7 separate regions of the Homo sapiens genome follow, and regions 1, 2, 3, 4, 5 and 6 are each linked to region 7. The links are contacts of gene promoters, found by promoter capture Hi-C in blood cells and fetal thymus (Javierre and others, 2016). All regions are on one chromosome and are shown on one strand. The core of a region is centred on a gene start or on the middle of the fragment in contact, and the rest is flanking DNA. Distances in the headings are between cores, read along the strand shown.

Evidence for each region. Contacts are between HindIII fragments. The CHiCAGO score rates a contact against its expected background, and 5 or more counts as called.
Region 1: a contact is called between a fragment that was not itself captured here and the fragment with the promoter of MTCH1 in region 7, in 1 of 17 cell types (erythroblasts). The highest score is 5.1, in erythroblasts.
Region 2: a contact is called between a fragment that was not itself captured here and the fragment with the promoter of MTCH1 in region 7, in 1 of 17 cell types (endothelial precursors). The highest score is 6.0, in endothelial precursors.
Region 3: a fragment that was not itself captured here is called in contact with the fragment with the promoter of MTCH1 in region 7 in 1 of 17 cell types (megakaryocytes); the score reaches 5.5 in megakaryocytes.
Region 4: a fragment that was not itself captured here is called in contact with the fragment with the promoter of MTCH1 in region 7 in 16 of 17 cell types (naive CD8 T cells, megakaryocytes, fetal thymus and 13 more); the score reaches 12.1 in naive CD8 T cells.
Region 5: a fragment that was not itself captured here is called in contact with the fragment with the promoter of MTCH1 in region 7 in 2 of 17 cell types (activated CD4 T cells and total CD8 T cells); the score reaches 6.0 in activated CD4 T cells.
Region 6: a contact is called between a fragment that was not itself captured here and the fragment with the promoter of MTCH1 in region 7, in 1 of 17 cell types (endothelial precursors). The highest score is 5.3, in endothelial precursors.

Annotation. Positions count from the first base shown.
Region 1 is chr6:36,770,897-36,773,912 of GRCh38, forward strand. All of the region lies in intron 10 of CPNE5 (copine 5), which reads right to left. Among named protein-coding and RNA genes, the nearest start is that of CPNE5, 67 kb to the right of the region's middle. RefSeq lists an enhancer at 1,022-1,521. The HindIII fragment of the contact is 8,826 bases long and covers 1-3,016 here.
Region 2 is chr6:36,754,047-36,757,107 of GRCh38, forward strand. It overlaps CPNE5 (copine 5), which reads right to left. Exons shown (of 21, transcript NM_020939.2): 13 at 2,199-2,252. Among named protein-coding and RNA genes, the nearest start is that of RAB44, 58 kb to the left of the region's middle. RefSeq lists an enhancer at 1,316-2,515. The HindIII fragment of the contact is 2,254 bases long and covers 529-2,782 here.
Region 3 is chr6:36,810,325-36,813,423 of GRCh38, forward strand. The region is part of intron 3 of CPNE5 (copine 5); the gene reads right to left. Among named protein-coding and RNA genes, the nearest start is that of CPNE5, 28 kb to the right of the region's middle. RefSeq lists a silencer at 700-868. The HindIII fragment of the contact is 1,664 bases long and covers 698-2,361 here.
Region 4 is chr6:37,206,728-37,210,026 of GRCh38, forward strand. No RefSeq gene overlaps it. Among named protein-coding and RNA genes, the nearest start is that of PIM1, 38 kb to the left of the region's middle. The HindIII fragment of the contact is 4,608 bases long and covers 1-3,299 here.
Region 5 is chr6:37,234,998-37,237,909 of GRCh38, forward strand. The region is part of intron 1 of TMEM217B (transmembrane protein 217B); the gene reads right to left. The region is part of intron 1 of TMEM217 (transmembrane protein 217); the gene reads right to left. Among named protein-coding and RNA genes, the nearest start is that of TBC1D22B, 21 kb to the right of the region's middle. The HindIII fragment of the contact is 2,392 bases long and covers 167-2,558 here.
Region 6 is chr6:36,786,697-36,789,863 of GRCh38, forward strand. The region is part of intron 8 of CPNE5 (copine 5); the gene reads right to left. Among named protein-coding and RNA genes, the nearest start is that of CPNE5, 51 kb to the right of the region's middle. The HindIII fragment of the contact is 2,244 bases long and covers 545-2,788 here.
Region 7 is chr6:36,984,162-36,987,466 of GRCh38, forward strand. MTCH1 (mitochondrial carrier 1) reads right to left here and starts at 2,035. Exons shown (of 12, transcript NM_001271641.2): 1 at 1,692-2,035. The coding sequence starts at 2,012. RefSeq lists enhancers at 1,589-2,311, 2,430-2,639 and a silencer at 1,750-2,339. The HindIII fragment of the contact is 16,171 bases long and covers 450-3,305 here.

The DNA.
Region 1 (3,016 bases), core at 165-2,664, 210 kb before region 7:
AACTGCGGAACACAAATCTGTGAGTAAGAATCTGGCTGCCGATCACACTGCCCATTTCTGTCGGTGGTGCCACCTTTTCCTGCCCTCAAACGCTGAACCATTATCCCTTCCCCTCTTTCACTCCCTTACCCAGGCAGGTACCAAGGCCTTTTGGGTCTTCCTCTTCCTTCTTGCTGTTCCCCTCTCCTCTCCCCTCTGAATTATTTGGTATTAAAGCCAGAAGGACGTTAATGCTTTGAGGACTAAAACCAATCCAAGCAGCTTCCCTACCTCTAATCAGAAAGCAGAACTGCCCCTAACCCCTGAGCAAGGTGCTCATTAGTAAGCCTCCCCCAGATGCACCCTGGTCACAGCCCTGTCATGCCATGTCTTGGCTATCTGGCAACAGTGCATAGGGATTAACAACACAGAATCTAGAGCCAGGCTGCCGGGGTCCACATCCTGGTTCTACCACCGGCTGGCAGCAAGACACTGGGCAAGTGACTTAATCTCTCAGGGCCTCTCTGTCTCCTTACCTGTAAAATGTGGCTAGCATCAGCACCTCTTTGCAATGAGCTAATTGTTGGGGGGATTAAATTAGTTCCTATACATAAAGCACTTAGAGCAGGGCCTGGCCCATGGTTAAGTGCTATAGGAGTCTTTGCTATTATCATGACCTGTCTGTCTCCCCACTGGCCTGGGAGCAACCTAAGAGGGAGGCTTGGGTCAATAGGCCCCCACAGCACCCAACACAGTGCCTGGGGCCTGACTGGCTTGGAAGACACGGCTGCTGAATTAAATCAACTACGTTCTGTGAGGCTCCAAGAGGTGTCTTGGAAGGAGGGGACAGTGGCCCCATTTTCCTGCACAGGGCCCTCCCCTGCCTACCCTGGAGGGCCTTCTGATACTGGCACCTCCTGAGTGTCTGTTGGGTGCGTGGGTTACACTGGGGCTGGGGGGCGGGGGGATAGGCCTGATCGTTCTTGGAGCCAGAGTGACATCCCTGGCCTCCTTGATTAACACTACTGTCAGTCACATTATGGAAGATCTGCTTCTGGACATGGGGGAGGGCCATCCTGCAGCGAGATGAGGCTAGGCTCTGCCTCAGAGTGGGAGGTGGGAGCCTGCCCCTCCCACCAAATAAATACCCACCTCCTCCAACGGCCCAGTGGTGAAGCCAGGCCTCCGAGCCCTGCTGCCCCTTTCACTGTCCCTGACAAAGCTGGCTCCTGCAACCCTGGGAGCTCCTCTCTAGAGATACAGGGTTGTGAGGGGTCAGTTGGGCCAGGGATCCCCAATTCCTTCTGCCCTGTGAGACTTTAACTGCCATACTCTCCCATCCCCCTACCTTGAATTTCCTCTCACTTTGTTTCCATCTCCCTTTATTCCCGTGCCCCTGTCCCCAGGATCCTCCACCCCTGACTTTCCAGCCTTTCCTGGGCCTTCTTTAGAACTCACTGCTCCAACCAGCCCGTCCTCTCACTGCTCCAACCAGCCTGTCCTCTCATCCCCTCACCCACTCTAGAAGCCCCAGGAGCCAGCTAGATGTGTAACAGAGGCTTGTTTGACTGCAGCGCTAAGACCGTCTTTGTTCCCAGTCTTATTTTGTGCACTTATTTATCTGTCTAAAATACATGTGCACATCTGTGCTGCCTGTGGTCAGACCACAGTCTCCCTAAAGATGGGAAGGCGACCCTGTTCGTTTAAATCCGCACAGCTAGAGGCGCCACGCTGGGACACAGGAGGCACTCAGTGACCACCTGTGGAACAGACTGTGGCTCTTCTGTCCCAGCCAAGAGGCAGGAAAAAGAACAAGCTCATGTCTCAAACTGGCAGCCTGGGGGTTTCTTCGGAGTGTAACAGGGGTGCCTGGAGGCCATTCATCTGCTGATCATCCCCTCAACATGCCTTTTCAGGCTCCCAGCTGCCCCAAGGTGTCTGGTTTTGTTTGTTTGTTTTCTTTTTTGTCTTTAAGGTTTTCTTTTTTTTTTCTTGAGACAGCATCCCAAGCTGGAGTGCAGTGGTGCAATCATAGCTCATTGCAGCCTTGAACTCCTGGGCTCACGTGATCCTTTTGCCTCAGCCACCTGAGTAGCTGGGTCCACAGATGTGCGCCACTATACCCAGATAATTTTTTTTAATGTTTTAATTTTTTTAAATTTAGTTTTAAATTTTTAAATTTTTTTTTGTAAAGATGGGGGTCTCACTATGTTACGCGGGCTGGTCTTGAACTCCTGGATTCAAGCCCATCTCAGCCTCCCAAAGTGTTGGGATTACAGGCGTGAGCCACCACGCCTGACCCCAGGTGTCTGTTTCGACACCCCAGTGCTCCTGTCGGAGTGGCCCAGAGGCCCAGCTTTCTTAGCTGTCCAGAGAGCCCTGCCCATGAGCCCCCTACCACCTCACCCACCTGAGCTGCAGCAATCACCAGGAGACAGGGATGGGTTCTCCTGACTCAACAGAAACCAACACAGTCTCACAGCTCCCATTTTGGGTGGTGGCCCCACTCGCTCTCTCGGCGCTTGCTACAATGTATAATTACATGTTTCCTTGTGTGATTATTGGATTAATGTCTGCCTCCCCTACTGGCATGTAAACACCACTAGGTTGGGTGAAGGGTGAAGACTGCACCCTGCTGATTTCCCAGCATCTAGCACAGTGCCTGGTACATGACAGGGGTTCCCTAAACATTTGTGGATGAGATGCTGAATTTGGTATTTTAGGCACAACAGAGCCTCGTTGTGTAGGTTGTGTCGTGTGAGCGTCAATGCAGTCCTGTAGAGTAGGCAGACATTTTAATACCCATTTTACAGATAAGGAAACTCAGGCTCAGACAGGTCAAGGATTGCCCAGGTTGACAGTGCTTTTTGGTCACAGAGTCAGAATTAGCAACCAGGTATCTGGTATCTACACTCAACAATCTACACTCAAATGATGATGAAGATGATAGCCAACATGTAATAAGAGTAGGCATATGTTAAAACAAAAAATCTAGCCTGGGCAACATGGTGAAACCCCATGTCCACCAAAAACACAA
Region 2 (3,061 bases), core at 406-2,905, 230 kb before region 7:
CCACAGGCCTCCTTCCAAGTGTGGCAGCTCAGACTTACTAGGAACCACGGCAGTGGCTTCAACCCTGACTGATGACCATGAGATGCCCTGGGGGCTCTTAGATCATCCTGCAGCCCAGACCCATTATAGCCGAGTTTCCGGGGCTACATGAATGTTTCAGAGATCTTCTTTTTTTTTTTTTTTTTTAGCTCTTCACGTAAGTCTAATCTGCAGACACAGTTGACCACTCCCCATTCCAACCCCCAGGATGAAGCAATGCCCTAACTGCCCTGACCATATGGGTTCACCCAGGGGCTCGCAGGGTGAAAGCAGACTTTCCCCTATTCAAAGGGTAGTGTCCCTAGACCAGAGCGTCAGCATCACCTCGATGCCAGGTAGAAATGCAGAAATGCAGATTCTTGGCATTTTCACAAGATCCCCAGGGGATTCTGCACACCATAAGTAAGGGATGAAAAGCACTAAACACAGATTCCTGGGCCTCCTAAAGTGGAATCCCAGGGAACTGGCCTGGGCGTCTGTATTTCAGCAAGCTTTCTGCATCCCGGGTGATTTTTCGCGATGAAGATGGGGAAATGCTGGAGTAAAAGGAAAGTCAAGAGACCTGGGCCTAGGCCCGCTCTGTCTCCAGCTCACTGTGTGACCTGGGACAAATCGCATGCCCTCTCTAGGCCACAGTTTCTTCGTCTCTAAAGTAAGAAGGCTGGATGAGATCAGTGGTTTTTGAACCTTTTTATTCCCAGCTGGGGAAGGTGCTGTCTTCCCTAGGGGAATTTAGGAAGGCGTGGGAGAATTTTGGGGGTTCTCATAATGACTGGGGCTCTACTGGTAGCTATGGGCAGCAGCCAGGGGTGCTAAACATCCTGTGAGATGAAGAATTTTCCTGCCCAAATGCTGACAGCCTCTCCACTAAGAAACACCGCAGCCTTGGACAAAGGAAATATGACTCCAAGCCCCAGTCTGTGAAGCAGTTACAATCAAAGAAGTGGTGTTCAGTCCCCTTTGAATGAGCAGAGTAATTTTACAGTTCACAAGCCTGCATCTCCCATGTGTCTGTCACAGCTGCCCTGTGCAGTGGCAAGGTGGGGATGATTTATTAGTCCTACTTTACAGACGGAGAAAATGAGGCTTCTCAGAGGAACCCCAGAGCTCCTGAAAACCTCTTCTAGGTCTGGAGATACAGTCTGCCTGACTCAAATGACCAGGCTTGGCTGCACTAGCCATGGGCCTCTAGAGTGAGGAAGGAACACAGAGAGGATGAATCTGGGTGTGTTTGCACTGCAGAGAAAGTGGCTTGTTCTAGAAATGCACTGTGAGCTCCACCTCAGGGCCTTTGCATGTGCTGTTCTCTACAGCAGGAATGCTGGAATTCCCTTTCCCCAGTATCCTCAATACTTCCTCCATTGCCTGTCCCTTTACCCTTTATACTTTTTCCATAGCTCTCATAATCAACTGACACACACAGGCATGTGTGTGTGTGTGTGTGTGTTTTTTTTTTTTCTCTGTCTCCTCCCACTAGAATATAAGCACCAGGGATTTGGGTCTGTCTTGTTTCCAGCTGTATCTGATGTGCCTAGAATAGTGCCTGGCACACAGTAGCACTCAGTAAGTATTTGCTGAAGAAGCGTATGAATGTCCTCAAGACCAGCCCCGAGAAGCCACTAGGCCGGCGTGTCATCCCAGGAAGGTCACGGTTAAGCAGGGGCAGCGCCCGTAGCAGCTGCCAGCTCTGGAGTGAGATGTCATGTTGAGTCCCATCTCTACCACTTTCTAGCTGTGTGACCTTGGCTGAGTCACTTTCCTGCTTGCAGCCTTGGTTTCCTCTTTCATGACTAGGGGATGATAATATCTGCCTCTCAGGGCAACAACCTGTGAAAAGCACCAACGTGGGGAATTTCCCAGGGTAGGGGCCCAATAAATACGACTTCTCTTCCTCTTCCTTCCTGCAGGAAGTCCCGTGGATGTCTCTGCGATTCCTCATGCTAGATACAGCCAGCGCCTGTTGTGTGGTCTGCAAGTCAACTCTCTCCCCTGGCTGTTGCTCCATCTGCCCCACCCCTCCCCACCCCATCTCTCTTGGATGTCTGATTCCCACGCTCAGCCCCTGCACACACACAGACGCACGGGCCTCCCTGATACCAGACCTAGCTTGGGGCTCAGAATGTCTACACCCGGCTGCAGAGACCGGGGTGGCTACTCACTGTGCCAGAATTCACGTATTTCTTTTTCTTCATTTTCTTTTTCGGGTTTACCACCTGCAGGAAAAACCAGTTACCAGGTAAGGCATGCTTCCAGGCAGTCAGGGTGAGTCTTGAGGGCTTCCAACCACCCATGGGTGTGGTCCAAGCCCAGCCCCATTAGAGTGTGGGGTGTGAAGACCACGGGGCCAGGGGAGAAGGGTTTAAGGAGGATTTGTGGGAGACTGGTATTGAGTCTGGGTTACACAACTGGGTTCTCCCATCAGACCCAGGGTCCCACGATCAACCGGGAATATTTATTTAACCTTCTCTCCCACTGTTCCCCGGAACACACGCACCCTCCACCCAGTATAGCCAAAGAAGTCTTGATGTTGCAAAGCGGCCCTATCTGTACCTGTCCCTTGTGTTGGTTGAGGCTGCTCCCCTCACCAAAAATGCACCCCCTTCCTCTCTCAGCCAATTCCAATCTCCCCTGTTCCTCCTTTGGGACCCAGCCCAAGGGCTGCCCAGGGCCTCTGAGGCTCCCCTCTCCATCACCATCCCTCTTACTTGGCAGCAAGAACCTCTTTAGCTATTCTTTGAGTGTAAGCTTTAACTTCCAAACCAGACCTGTGTCAGATAAATCATGGGGCTAGGCTCAGAGTAGGTGCTCAGAGAAGGCTTGTTGGTGGCTAACTCAGCGGTCTCAACCAGGGGCGATTTTACCCCCAGGAACGTTTGGTAACATCTGGAGACGGTTTTGGTTTCCACAACTGAGGGGGTGAGTAGAGGCCAGGCATGCTGCTAAACATCCTACAGTACACAAGACAGCCTCCCACGGCAGGGAGTGATGCAGTCCCAAATCCCAGTAGTGCCAAGGCCAAGAC
Region 3 (3,099 bases), core at 280-2,779, 170 kb before region 7:
CCTTCCCCAGCCGTAGATCCCTCAATACTTTTCATATATTATTGATGGCTCCTTAATTGGGGATTCTAAAAGCCTCGCTGCAGAGCCCAGCCCTGGCCCCTCATGAATCATGTTCACTAGGATTAAAATTAGAGGCCAGAAAGCTACCTGACTCAAATAGAAACGGAAAAAGGGAATGTGCTTTCCAAGGCTGGCCCTGGGAATAGGAGCCAGGTGGGGGCGCCCAGTGGCTGGGAAGAGTGGCCTGAGATCTGGGGACAGGAAAGGAGGGCCTGGGGAGGCGGAGGAGCACGGAGGATCTGGCCATGCCAGGCCTGCACCATCTTGGGTCTGGAAAGTTCTCTCTGGTTCTGTCACTGAAGGAGTCCAGAATTCTGTGGCCACCCCTCCTCGTTGCAGTGAGGAAAACCAGGCCCAGAGAGAGATGGGGCTTGCCTAAAATTACAGGGAGTGAGCCATGACCTTGGCACCTTTCGTTTCGTAGGCCTGGTGACCTCCCAAATGGCTGCCTGTTTTGTTAAGGCTTCCAGGTAAGGCAGGGCAGAGGTGGAGACAGGGGCCCTGAGTTAGGGAAGCCCAGGCTCTAAAGGCCTCCCTGTTCTCAAGCCTGGTCAGAGAAGCCTCCCTATCTCGCCCAGAGACCAGGGTCAGGGTATGAAACTTTACCAAGCTTAGAATGAAAGACTTCCTGCCAAAAAGCTTAGTTCCTAATTAGCCATTGTTTCAGATAATCTGTTCAATCATCCCAGCTCCTCGGGGAACGGGGAACGACCCTTTACCAATGAGCCTGGCTGCCAAGCTGCCAACAAAACACTCTCCACCACCTTGTCCCCACCCCCAGCCTTCTAGCCCCGGGTCTGACTGTAGAGGGTGGGGGGCCTGAGCAGTCCCCACCCTAAAGGAAGCCAAGCATCATGGAGGGGGCCCTGGGACTTGTCCCCCAGCTCACTCCAAAACATCGATAGCTCCTGCCAAATGGCATCACGATGTCTGAAATGATACTGTCAATGGTTCCTTCCTCCAGATAAAGCATTGGTTTCTTACTTAGGGCTTCTTATAAGAAGAGCCATTATTGAGCTTTTTCTGCAGGCCAGGCACTTTACACGAATTAGCTTATTTACTCCTCACAGTAGGCTTGTGAGCCTAAGTGCTTGGCCAAGATCCCCCACCTGGGCAGGTGGTGGGCCCATTTTTAAACTTGACTTTGGAGTGCACACTTTCAACAGCTCAGCCACAACTGTAGAGTGCACCTGGACACTAACACTGAAAAGCAAATAGATCTATCAGCCACCAGGGGACCTGGCCTAGAACTCAGGGTTTATTAGAAAAGCCAACTCCTTTCTTCAAATGAAATCTCAGGCTCATGTCTAATGTATTACACAGAAATAATGAACACCTCTGCTTGAAGGAGGAAAGGGAGGCAGGGGCTACACACATATTCACGGTGGATCCTGGAGCTGCCACCCTCAAATCCTGGGGATAGAAAAGCACACTTTGGGCTGGGCGCAGTGGCTCATGACTGTAATCCCAGCACTTTGGGAGGCCGAGGTGGGCGGATCTCCTGAGCTCAGGAATTTGAGACCAGCCTGGCCAACATGGTGAAACCCCATCTCTACGAAAAATACAAAAATTAGCTGGGGGTGGTGGCATATGCCTGTAATCCTAGTTACTCGGGAGGCTGAGGCAGGAGAATTGCTTGGACCCAGGAGGTGGAGGTTGCAGTGAGCCGAGATTGTGTCACCACACTCCAGCCTGGGCGACAGAGTGAGACTCCGTCTCAAAAACAAACAAACAAGAAAAGCCCACTTTGAAAGTCAGTGGCCTGGGCAGAGGAGAAGACCAGGGACTCCGACTCGGAAAACCACATTCACATCCCAGCTCTGCCACTTCCTAGCTGTGTTGCTGGGCAAAGCCAGGATCCCTCTGAGCTCTGCTTCCTCATCTGGGTGTGGTGAGGGCCAAGGGAGATAATGGGGTGCTGCTGATGTGGAGACTGTACAGGGTAGAAGGCATATCAGTCACCCTCTTATTTAAGGAGGGGAAGGAAAGGGATAGAGCCTCTTTACAGCTTGCCTGATGGTACTGTTTAATAATAAAAAGAATATTTACAGGTCCTGAGCACAGGCAGGCACTGCTAAGTGATTCTGCCATGTGGTCCCTACCACAGTCCACTAAGCAGGCATTGGGAACCCATTTTATTGATGAAAAAAACTAAGGCTCAGAGAGAGGTTAAGGAAAGTGGCAAAGTCAGGATTCAAAGGGACATCCCAGACAGCACCTCACTGTGTCAAAGCAGGTTTTAAAGCCCTGACCCTAAGACTGTGAGTAGGTGGCCATAGACCCATCTAGTCCCTAAAGTAAAGCTTTGGTCCTGGACTGCCTAACCCTGATCACGGGGAGTCAGAGCCCTGAAAATTCAGCTGCATGACAAGAGCAAAGGCCACTAAAGGCTTTCCAAGTGACCTAAGGCTCAGGAGGGACCTCTCTTTGCAGAGGCAGACTTCTCTGCAAAAAGGAGAGAGTCCAGAAAGCCTACCCCAAGCTTGCCTTGGAGTCCACCTCTTAGAGAGGCCTGCCTTCCGCTTTGTGCCTTAGCAATGCTGATGGTCCACTCATTCCTTTGTATCTTTAGATAATGGTCTATGTGGAATGACCAAGGCCAGGTCACCAGGGATCCTAAATTGGGCTCAAGGCCAGGCAGGCAGAGGGTTATTTCTTTTCAGATTTAAACTCTTGGCATTGAACGAACTGGATCCCCTGTGTTCATGCCCACCACAGTCTTATTCCAAAACCTCCACAAGACTGCAAATTATCTTCCTGCTTCTGCCCTTTCCCCTGCAGTCCACTCTGCACACAGTGGCCAGGGCTGTCTTTCTGAAACATAAACCAGGTTGCATCACTCCCCTGCTTAAAACCCTTAAATAGGCCAGGTGTGGTGGCCCACGCCTGTAATCCCAGCATTTTGGGAGGTTTAGGAGGGAGGATCACCTGAGGTCAGGAGTTCAAGACCAGCCTGCTCAACATGGTGAAACTCTGCCTCTACTAAAAATACAAAAATTAGCCAGGCATGGTGGCGCATGCCTGTAGTCCCAGCTACTT
Region 4 (3,299 bases), core at 325-2,824, 220 kb after region 7:
CATGCTATCTTCCAGGACTCGGCTTAAAGGTTTTCTCCTCCAGGAAGACTTCCCTGACTCTCCACCTCCAAGGCCCCCTCCTGCGGCCCCCAGTGCTTCCTCTAGCACCTATCGTCCTGGGTCCAGATAGCCTAAGTGGCTTGGCCCCTCGCTAGGCTGGGAGCCCCTTGGAATGTGGGCTGTGTCTTGCTTCCCCAGGTATTCCTCAATTCCTAATTCACGGTCTGCAACACAGTAATAAACTGTATGAAGAAAAGTAGGACGGAAGGCTGGGGGATCTTCACGGACTGAAAGTGTCAGGGGTGGGTGACAGCCCTTAAGAGTGTTGCTCTTCCCGGGGACACCTGCACTGTTAGAAAGACTTGTTTTCCACTTGGTGAGATGGAGCTGGGAGATGAGGTGGTGATTCTAGTGGCAGCAGTTGGTGTAAGGGAACAGGACTGGGAAAGGAGGAAAGGAATAAGGGGCTGAAATCGTATCCTTTGTCGGTATTTTCCTACCTGTGTCTAGATTCTTCACCAGAGACTGCAGAATTGAATGAGAGAAGAAAGGAGTAGGAACAGGAGGCTGAAAGAACAGTAATAATTTGCCTCTCATAGGCCGGGCGTGGCGACTCATGCCTGTAATCTCAACACTTTGGGCAGATCACCTGAGGTCAGGAGTTCAAGACCAGCCTGGCCAACTTGGTGAAACCCCATCTCTACTAAAAATACAAAAATTAGCCCAGAGTGGTGGTGGGCACCTGTAGTCCCAGCTACTCAGGTGGATGAGGTAGGAGAATCGCTTGAACTCAGGAGGCGGAGGTTGCACTAAGCCACAATGGTGCCACTGCACTTCAGCCTGGGCGACAGAGACTCTGTCTCCAAAACAAAAACAAAACTGAGAGTCTATGTCCATTCATTCCACAAATCTTTATCAAGCACCTGCTACATGCTGGGCATTGAACTAGGTGCTGGGAAAACATCAGTGAAGTAAATATGGTGCCCACATTTTTGGAGGGTGGTGGGAGAGGCAACTGTATAGAGTAAGTCAGGTGATAGTACATGTTATGAAGAAATGTAGCACAGTAAGTGGGAAAGAGACACATGGGATGGTAGGGAGGGGCTGTTTCACACCCATTGGTAGGGAAGGCCTCTCTGATGCCTTCTGAGCAAGAAAGGAAGCTGGTGAATAGCTGGAGTAAGAATATTCTAGGCGGAAGGCACAGTGAGTGCAAAGGCCCCGAGGCTGGAGTGTGCTGTCTGTGTTAGGGTGAACGAAAGGAAGACAGCATGGCTGCAGCAGAGGGAGGCGGAGAGAACAAAATGGTTAGAAAGCAGATCAGAGGGTGACAAGGGACTGGGTTATTTAGCAGCTGGCATGCCGTGGTAAAGACTTGGGATTTCTACCCTGAGTGTGGTGGGGAGCCCTGGCAGGTGAGGACCGGAGTAGAGGAGGGACTTGATCTGACTCAGGTTTCAACAGGAGCCCTCTGGTGGCTGGGCGGAGAACTGACTGTAAAGGGAACACAGTGGCATGGGGAGGCCAGTCAGGAACTGCTACTGCAATAGCCTGGGCAAGAGATGGTGATGGCCTGGGCCAGGGAGGTGGCAGGGGAGGTTATATGAAGTGGTTGGATATGGATCTATATTGAAGGGTGGGCTGATGGGGAGTGGTGAGGAGTTAGATTCAGGCTGAGAGAAAGAGAGGACCTAAGGATGCCTGCTGGGTCTTTAACTTGAGCAATGGAAGGGTAGAGGTGGCAAAGACTGGGGGTTAGGGCAAGGTATACGGGAGAAAATCAGGAGTGTGGATTGGGATACACTCCCCAATTTTTATTTATTTATTTATTTATTTATTTATTTATTTGAGATGGAGTTTTGCTCTTGTTGCCCAGGCTGCAGTATAGTGGCGCGATCTCAGCTCACTGCAACCTCCACCTCCCAGGTTCAAGCAATTCTCCTGCCTCAGCCTCCTGAGTAACTGGGATTACAGGCACCTGCTACCATGCCCGGTTAATTTTTGTATTTTTAGTAGAGAGGAGGTTTCACCATGTTGGCCAGACTGGTCTTGAACTCCTGACCTCAGGTGATCCACCCGCCTCAGCCTCCCAAAGTGCTGTCATTACAGGCGTGAGCTACCATGCCCGGCTACATTCCCACATTTTAAGAAAATTAAAAAAAAAAATTTTTTTACATCAGTTGGATGCGGTGGCACACCTGTATTCCCAGCTACTCAGGAGGCTGAGGTGGGAGGATCGCTTGAGCCTGGAAGTTCAAGGCTCCAGTGAGCTATGATTGCACGACTGCATTCCAGCCTGGGTGACAGAGTGCAACCCTGTCTCTAAAAATCAAATAAAAGTAGAGACATCCTGAGTGAGACCCTGAGAGAATCTGAGTCAGAGAACCAGGTGAGCTGTGTCTGGACTCCTGACCGCAGAAACTAAGACAGAATAAATGTACTGTCTTAAGCTGCTAATTTTGGGGTAATTTGTTATGCAGTAATAGATAACTAGTACATGTCACATCTCTACAAAAATGTCTCTACAACAGTAACCACCCCAAAACATATCCTGACTGGGTATGGTGGCTCATGCCTATAATCTCAGCACTCTGGGAAGCCAAGGTGGGAGGATAGCCTGAGGCCAGGAGTTCAAGACCAGCCTGGGCAACATAGGGAGACCCCATATTGTATTTAAAAAAAAAAAAAAGAGTTGTGTAGGGGAGGATCTGCTTCCAAGCTCCCTCATGGGGCTGTTGGTAGGATTCCGTTCCTCACGGGCTCTTGGTTAGTGACCTCTGCTCCTGGCAGTGTGAGCCTTTCCATAAAGATACTTTCAACATGATAGCCAGCTTCCCTCAGAGAGCGGGCAGCACTGACGTCATCGTCTTCTGTAACCTAACCTTAGAAAGGACAACCCATCGCTTTTGCTATGTTCTCTTTGCTAGAAGAGGATCACTGGGTCCTGCCCACATCTAAGAAGAGGTGATGAATGTGAATATCAGTTCGCAGAGATCTCTGGGAACCATGTTAGAGCTGGCTACCACATCAAGGAAGCAACTGCATAAACAAAGCCAGGGTTTAGGGGAGAAGTCCAGGCTGAAGATGTATATGGGGCTTATTAGTGATGGGTCTGGACCAGGTGAGCTGGGAGTGAGTGAGACAGAGAACAAGACCAAGGACTGTGCCAAGGGCACTCCGGTGTTTGGAGGTCAGGAAGATGAGGAGAGGCCAGCAAAGGAGACTGAGGAGAAGGGGCCAGTGCGGCAGGGGAGGGATGGAGACGGAGGCAGAGGGGCTACCAGAGAAACCTGTTGGCA
Region 5 (2,912 bases), core at 113-2,612, 250 kb after region 7:
TCCCACTGGCTACCCTTATGCTGGTGTGGCTTTTTAAAAAACACAGTATCTTCTTAACTGCAAAATGGTTAAAGCTGGCAATGTGGAAGGACAGCTGGATAACTCTGTCATAGTCTAAACCATGAGCTAAAAACATTATCATGAGAAGTAGCTGGGGATAGAACAAAGCTTTTTTTACTTGTGAAAATTTCTGGAAATGATATATTACTTCAAATACTACACAATTGGAAGTGATTCCAATTCCATCTTGGAATGTTGGCAACATTTTAAATTGTTTTAAATTAAAGATATCTGTCTTAGACCATTTATGCTGCTATAACAGAACACCACAGACTGGGTAATATATAAAGAATACAAATGTATTTCTTTTATTATTATTTTTTTTTGAGACAGAGTCTTGCTCTGTCGCCCAGGCTAGAGTGCAGTGGTGCCATCTCGGCTCACTGCAAGCTCCGCCTCCCAGGTTCACGCCATTCTCCTGCCTCAGCCTCCTGAGTAGCTGGGACTACAGGCACCCGCCACCACGCCTGGCTAATTTTTTCTATTTTTTAGTAGAGATGGGGTTTCACCATGTTAGCCAGGATGGTCTCGATCTCCTGACCTTGTGATCCGTCCACCTTGGCCTCCCAAAGTGCTGGGATTACAGGCGTGAGCCACCACGCCTGGCCTAATGTATTTCTTATGGTTCTGGAGGCTGGAAAGTCCAAGATCAAGGCACTGGCATTAGTGTCTGGTGAGGACTGCTCTCTGCTTCCAAGATGACGCCTTGTTGCTGTGTCCTCACAGGGAGGAAAGTAGAAGGGCAAGGGGACCTAAACTAGTTCCCTCTAGTCCTTTTATAAAGCACTAACCCATTTTGAAGGAACCCTCATGACTTAATCCCTTCCCCAAAGTCCCTATCTCTTAATACCACCACTATGGGGATTAAGTTTCAACACATGAATTTTGGAGGGGTCAAACACATTCAAACCACAGCAATATCTTTATGTAGAGTTTAAAATATTCATACTAGAAAAATAAAGCTAGATAAATAAAAAATCATTACCATAACAAAACATTGTAAAATAAAGCTGATTTTTATCCTTTCATCCCACTTTAACATCATCGTGTTTGAACTGAAAAAAGTGTGTAGTGTTTATTTTATTTTTAATTTAAAAACAATTTAAAAAAACAGAGACATGGTCTCACTATGTTGCCCAGGCTGGTCTTGAACTCCTGGGCTCAAGTGATTCTCCCACCTCTGCCTCCCACGAGTGCTAGGATTACAGGCATGAGCCACTGTGCCTGGCCATTTATTTTTAAATACTCTTTGTTTTTTAGGCCCTGAACTAAGCATTTATCATTTGCCAATCTGCAGCTCAGTTTAACCCTTTCTGAGTGGGTTATTTTTAGAGTATGAGCATGTGTATTTTTTTGGTGGTAGCATTGCCCTCCCAGGTTCAATCCTGGGGTGGGAGAGTAAGCTAATTAGTTGTGTTCTGAGTAACCAAGGATATCCTGAAAATGCAAGGGAATAATAGGCCATTATAGGGAGGGTATCAAGGTTGAGATCCGCAAATTTGCAAGTCAAATGCCCAGGCTTCAATCTTGGCTTCACCATTTACTGTGAATTTATTCTCTCCAAGTCTCAGTTTGCTCATCTTTAAATTGGATGTGCCAGTACTATTTTTTTTTTTACTAATTTTATTAATTTCTATAACAAATTACCCCAAAACTTAGTAGCATAAGATAACCATTTATTATGTGAATGGATTCTGTGGGTGAGGACTTCAGACAGAGCACAGTTAGCTTAATTTTGTACATTGTGGGGAATTTAGACAGGGCATGTCCAGGATGACTTGCTACTTCTCCTCAAACTTTGTAGCCTCTCCTAGAAGACTCACTCAGATGCCTGGCGATTGCTCTTGGCTGTCAGTTGGAGGCCTCAGTGCCCATCCATGTGGGCTTCTCCATGGTCTCTCTGTGTGGGCTCCTTTGGGCTCCTTCACAGCCTGATGACTGGCTTCTCCAGAATGAGTGTCCCAAAAAGAGCAAGCCAGATGGAAGCTGTATCACCTTTTCTTATTCTAGCCTCAGAAGTCCCATAGCAACACGTTTCCTGGACACTATTCTTTAGAAGTGAGTCACCAAGGCCATATTCAAGGGGAGAGGAATTAGATTCTACCTTTTGTGGGAGAAGTGTTAAAGAATTTGCCAAGATGTAGGGACTTCTGAGTATCTGAGTGTTCACAATCAAAGTTCCCGCATTTGCCAGGTTGCCCAGGGAAACAAAAGTCATCATGACAAGAAAATATTCACAAGTGAATTGACATTCTCTGCCTCCCTCAGTCCTGCAACATTCCTCCTTGCTGAAATGAAGGGCTCTCTGTGTGCACCAAGACCCCATCAAGTCAAAATCTTTATTGGTCAGCCTCTCTCTGGTAGCCCACTGTAAATATCTGACAACACACAACACAAGGCAAGTCGTTTGCAAGAAATTATTGCAAGTCTTGCAGAAGATTCAGGACTTCATGCAGACATTAAAAAGGATATTGGAAAACTGCTAGAATCATATGCAAAGCTTGAATGTAACAGAATTAGACCAGTTAATAACCAGAAAAGAGAAAATCAATAAGAATGTTATAGGCACTTCAGTAAAGAATGGTTTCAGGATGAATAAACTGCTACATATTTGCACAATGGGAGTGTTAAACAGGAGTCAAAAGGAACAACTGTAGCAACATACAACAATATGGTAGAATCTTAACAATGTAATATCAAGTGAAAAAAGTACTAAAGACATACAGTTAAAAACAACCATCTTTCTCTATATATATACACACACACTACACACACATATTTTTAGGACTTTATATAGATGCAAGAAAACTCTAAAACTGTATGAAAAGCAAAGTGAAGGATAATGAGCTCAG
Region 6 (3,167 bases), core at 417-2,916, 200 kb before region 7:
CGGCTATTAAGTGCATGTTTTCTAAAAATGTATAATGATACAGGAAAAGGCAGGCTATAAAACTGGATACTATATTATATCAATTATAAGAAAAATTACGTACATGGACACTCAGCAAGAAAGCCTTGGAGGAAGCACATCAAAATGTCAACAGTGATTATCTCTGGGTGACTTTTCCATGCTGTTTATATTTTTCTGTATTTTCCAATTTGTCCATAATGAATATGTTATTTTTTTTTAGCATCAGGAAGAAATGCTTTTGCTTTGTTTTGGCTTTTTAAAAGCCAGATAGATTATTTCTAAGACCAAAAAAATTCAAACTAACCTTAAGAAGGGTGATGTTTGAATGCTGGTTACACGGGATGCTCATATCGGTCTCAGCCACAACACACGACTCTCCTATGTATCAACCTGCATACTTCCGAGTCTCAGAGAACCTTCACCACCTCCCCCACTTACTTTGACTCTTCCTTCTCATCTCTCTTTCTCCATGGCTCTTCCTTCTTCCCTCATCTTTCAGGTAGAGAAACTGGCCTCTCCCTGAAGCTTATCTTTGGAAAAACAAAAGTTTTGATTGTGTTGGGATCCAGGCTGCTAAGTTCCCCAGCTATGAGGTCCCACACAATCTGGCCCCAACTCCCACCATCACCACCCACAGTCTCATCTTTCCGATTCCTCATCCATCACTCCTGCCCCAGGGCCTTTGCACTGGCTGTTCTGTCTGCTTGGACCAATATTCCCCAGGTAACTGGAAGGGTTCATTCTCCCACCTGTCTATATATATTGGCATATTACATAGTATCTACACATTTTCCTTCGGGATAGTCAAGAGTGTGATAAAATAGTTGTTGTAAGAAGAGGCGCTGGATCTGCCAGGGCTGAGGACCACTGCTCTCATGTGATTGCCGGTTGGCATTTCCATCTCTCATACTAAATTAAAAATTCTGGGACAGCAGGGACTCAGTCAAAGCATATTTCCTGAACTGAAATGAAAGAATACATGAGCACGCTGGTGACACCTAAGGGGTGGGGAGGCCCCCGGGGCAGTTATGGTGTGAAGTTATAACTCCCTTTGCAGGAGAGAGATGAGGCACACCCTTCTTCCTCCATCACTGCCTCCTCCATGACCACCGCCACCATCCTGGCTGGGACGGCCAGTCAGGTGGAAGGACCTGACTAGGAGGTGGTAAAGACGTACTATCCTGAGCCGGGAAGTCCTGACTCCAGAGCAAGGCAGGTCTGGGTGGCTGACAGGTCTCTAGGGGGAACCAAGGGGCTGGGAAGTGGAGGGCAAAGAGCTATCCAACCCTCTGTATTGACAACAACCCCTACCTTTTCTTTTTTTTTTTTTTTTGACAGGGTCTCACTCTGTTCCCCAGGCTTCAGTGCACTGGTGCAATCATGGTTCACTGCAGCTTTGACCTCCCAAGCTCAAGTGACCCTCCTACCCCAGCCTCCTGATTAGCTGGGACCACAGGCGTGCACCACCACACCCTGCTAATTTAAAAAAATTTTTTTGTAGAGATGGTCGGGGGGGGGTCTCACTATGATGTCCAGGCTGGTCTCGAACTCCTGAGCTCAAGCTATTCTCCTGCCTTGCTCAGCCTCGCAAAGTGCTGGGATTATAGGCGTGAACCCCAACCTCCACTGCTCAAAGCCACCCTGCCTGCTGAGGGCAGTAGCCCCACAAGGGACAGAAGGTCGGTGACTGTTCCCTGTACCGTGAGGGCTCGAGGCTCCAGGGGTGAGGGAAAGACTGAGGATTAGGAGTTCCAAGGCCTGAGCTAGAATCCCAGCAATCTTAGGCAGACCACTAACTTCTCTGCATCCGTAAAACAGGGTTACTCACACCCACCCAGCCCCCCAGCCTTGCAGTCAGAATCAAATAAGACTAAATAAGAGGGTCTCGGTAAACCAATGTTGGCCAGTATTACAGGCAGTAACAATCGTTTTACTGCTGTATTACAGGCAGTAACAATCGTTTTACTGCTGAGCAGAATTGAACCTTGGGTGATTCAGAAGGCCCTTCGGGAGACCAACCTCATGACTGTCAACATCAAGTACCATTCGATAGTATTTGGATCAAATTCTGATTGTGGGAACTTCTTTGACATTTAAATTCCAGATGAACAAGGCTTTTCTATAACCTGTCAAACTATGCTGGTGACACACTGGAGTCCACTGTCATCCTTTGCTGGTTCCCACCCGCCCACGTCATCCCCATGGATGAAGAGAGGGTTTGTCTACTTCGGCAAAATGTATTCATTTGAGCAGGAAGCCCTGCTCTGGTGAAAAATCATCTCTCAGACCCCACCCTCTTCCTTTGATCCTCCCACTGAATGCTGAGCTGGAAAGACGAAGCAAAGCTGTTCAGATGTAATTATTTTAATTCAGCCAGATGCTGGGAATTAGTCTCTTTTCCTTGCAAGGATTCTAGGGAGAGACAGAACTCAGCTAAAGATGCCCCAGAAGAAAAGGAGCTGACAATCTCAGGAGGAAGGGAGGGCGCTCCCTGCCCCCGACATAGACCCCTGGTGCTGGAACAGCTTAAATCAAGAAAACTGCTGCTATCCCTGGGTGAAGGAGTAGGGAGGACTGGGGAAGAAGGAGGAAGAGGAAGGGTTTAACACCTGATAGGTATTCAACCTAAGACTGCTTACCAACCCCTGGAATGCTAGACCAGTAACGGCCACCAGCATTGTCTAGAGCGTTAGAATTTCCAAAGCGCTTTCATGTATGTGACTTTATTTGGTTATAAACTAGGAAGAAAGTCACCAGCTGGGCTAGAAGCTTGGGGAAACACTGAATTTAGGTTCAAGGAATTCAGATGCACCCTTTCCTAGGCATCTGTTAGACACACTCACATTCATGAACTCCTTTAATCCTCACAGCAACCCTATCAGCGCCAAGCTGCAGGTGGAAAACGGAGGCTCTGGGAGCTGCAACAGCTCTGTTCCACAGGGCAACCGAATTCTCTCCCTTGTCTGAACTCCAGTGGCATCCAGATCCTCAGCAGACACGTGTGTTTTGTCCATGACCTGGTGCTGAACACTCGGTCTGTGCTTCCTAATCATTCAGTCACATATTCGTGATGGGTCCTCGGGAATGCCTACTGCACCCCGAGTCCTGCCCTGGGGGTGCACACTGGGTGGGGTTCATTCCCGCTG
Region 7 (3,305 bases), core at 785-3,284:
CACTCAGTCTCATTCCATCAGTTTCCAGAACCCTCACTTCTCAGGTCCAAAGCACCAATTTATCTCCCAAACTTCAAGTTCAACTGCTGTAAATACAATCTTAACCCTGTAAGACAGCCCTCATTCCCAAATCACAACCAAATGCCAGTCTGGTCTACACCTTCCGCCATCAACAATTTTCAAATCTGTCACAATTAGGGTCTAGTCAGGCACCTTGATGCCCCTGACTGAATCTCCTCATTCCTTGTCATATTCCTGGTCACACCCACAAATCTATTACCATTCCTCGGATCCCAGATTTCAATTACTCTCATTCTCAAGGCCTTCTCATTCCAGTTGTATTTTGCATTCTCTCGGTTCAATTATAAAGATGGTAAAATCTGACACCCACCTGCCTCAACTCAAATCTTGGATGGGTCTCCAATTCAATTTTTACCTTCCTCCCCCCAAGCTTCTTAACTGGAAAATTCTGGCCTAATGACCCCCATCAAAACTGTACCCATCCCAGCCACACCCACCTAATTCTCACACCTCCACACGCCCTTCATTCCAGCTCACTCCTCAAGCAGCACACTTCATCTGTACCGCATTGCTGGCCACCACCAAATCTGCCAAGTGCCTATGCATCCCTCTGTTCCAGAGACATCCCTACCTCGGTCTCAATTTCTGGTAGTCCCTACCTATCCTGCCACCTATGTCTCCACTGTCCCTTCTGCCCAATTTCAATACTCCCGTGCCCCTTCTCCTCATCTGCCCAGATACAAGCACTGTGATTCCTCTCTCTGACCCCAACTATGACTTCCATTTCCTCCTCCAAATGCGTCATCCCCCTTCCCCGCTTAAAGCCTCCTCCTAGCTCCCCTCTCTAGACAAATCGCTGCCACTCCCCTCCCCCAATGCTGGCCCTATCTGTTCCCCTCCCCCCATACGCGTCACCCTGTCCCCTCCTCCTACCAAATCCGTCGTCGCCATCAAATCCAGAGCCCCCATCTCCGGTAAACCGATAGCATTCCCCTGCAAAAGTCTTTGCCTTCGCACTCTCCCACCAAATTAAATCACAATGCAACCCAAGACCTCCGTCTCCTCTGTCCACCCCCAGTCTGGTGTCCTTCTTTCCCTCCTAAATTTCTGGCCCTGGCGCCCACTTTGTCCCCACCCCAAGACGTTTTAAATCCATCTCTATCAAATCCAGAGCCTCCGTTCCCCTCTACCCCAATTATGTGCTCCTCATTCTCTAAACACTTTGCCTGGGCCCCCAACCTTCCTCCCCATCTCTTCACCCAAACTTCTTGCCCCTCCCCCAATTCTATTGCTTCTTCCCTCGCCCCAAATTCGCTCCCTTCCCTATCCCAAGTCCATCGTCCCCACTCCTTTATCTCCCAAATATGTTTTTCCAGCCCATCGCTCCCTCCTTGGCACTCCCCCAAATCGCTTGTTCCTTCCACCCTCTCCCGTATCTGTTATTACTCTAACCCCTTGGTCTCCTTTCTGTATCCTAAAACCCGTGACCCCTGCGTTCCCAACTCCCTCACGGCTTCCCTCCCATCCCACCCACTCGGCCCCCCAAACCCGCCGTCCCCACCCCTCTCCCCAAATCCGTCGCCATTGACTGCCCGCCCCAATCCTCCAAATCCTGGCCTGTCACCTTCACATCAGCCTCCCATCTCCCTACGGCGCCTCTGGTCCCCCACCTGGATGAGCAGCTTCACGTAGAGCAGGGGATGGCTGAGCGCCGTCACGCCCGCGCCCAGTGCCACGAAAAGAGCCTCAGTGGTCGGGGCGTTGTCCCCAGACCCCAGGCCCCCTGACCCGCCATCCATCCTGCGGGCCGAGGGCTGAGCCGCAGGCCGAGGGTGGCGAGGATGTGCGCGGTGCGCGGGCGGTGGATCGCGAGCTCGAGCCTCGACCCCCGCCGCCGCTCCGCCGCGAGCTCCGGCTCCAGCTCCGGCTCCCGCCATCCCCGCGGCACCGCCGCGAGCCCAGGGCGCCACTTCCGGGTCCGAAGCTCCCATGGCGCCCGGCGGCGAGGTCACTCCCCGTCACGTGACGGGGCCACGCCCCCTCACCGGCGTCAGGGGGCGGGGCCGGGGCGCACCACTCCAGGCCGCGGGGGAGCTCGGGAGCGTGGTGCGGCGGGTGGGACACGCCGGATGTGGCTCCCCGGCCGGTTGGAGGCCTAGCAGGACACTGGGCTGCGGGCCGGGGGTCAATGGTGGCGGGCAGCCGGGGCCCCGGGCTCGGGAGCTGTGGCGGCAGCCGCAGGCCGGGGCGCTCCCCCGGGATGCCCAGAGCACGCGGGGGCGGGGTTCGGCGCCTCTGGCTGCCAGACGTCCCCAATATGGTCTGAGGCGCTTCCAAGCCACCTCCCTGGCTTCGGGAGTTTTCTCTGCAGTTCTCTGCCCGCCCCTTTGCGGCCCAGATCCCAGTCGCCGCGGCCTGCGTGGAACTCTGCGCGAGCTGAATCTCCTGCTGCAGGACGAGCCCCGACCCCGAGCCCGATCCCCTCCGCGGTCCCAGCCTCTTTGTCCGATCGCATTTTCCATCTCCTCTGCCAGGAATGCTCTCCCAACCAGAGCAAATCCAGATGTCCCCTCGGCGACTGTGGGCACCCTCCCCAGCTGTGGAGCCTTCGCACGCCTTCCTCAGAGTCCGTGGTTGTAAAATTTGTTTTGCTCTAAAGTATTTGACTGTCTCCCTCACTAGATCCTGAGGGTTTTAGTGAGTGCCTCAGTGTGAGCACATGCAGGCACTGCTAGGCGCCTGTAGTTGATTCTTAGTTAATACAAGTGAATAATCACAACTAGACCTTAAATTGCAGGGACTATGTGACAGGCACTTTTTAAAATGCTTTATACGTGTTGATTTAAGTGTAATCGTCACAAGAACCCTGCGAGGAAGATAGGACAGCAAGTGCCCTGTTCCTGTTTGTAAACGTGCCCGACACTCTGCAACAACACCTACAACAGAACCGTGCTAGTTTTGGGGGTTCGCAATAAAAGTTTCTGTTTGAACGGATCCTAGAGTGTGCAGGGACACAGCAATGGAAGACCTGGTCCCTTTGTCTGTACTTAGTCTATAGCCAGTTCATTGTGAGAAATTTCTTTAGATCGACACCTGCCACTGTTAGTCCGGGTTTCCCAGTCTGTCCTTTCTAACTCCCTTCCTGCCTTACCCCCTAAAAAGCTACCTCCCCTCTTCCCACTCCTGATAATGAACACTATGTACTTTCCACGTTCAAAGCATGCCACACTCCCTCTCTCCCTCACCTTGGCCTCCCTAACCCAGGCTTGTCCTAGTGAAATCAC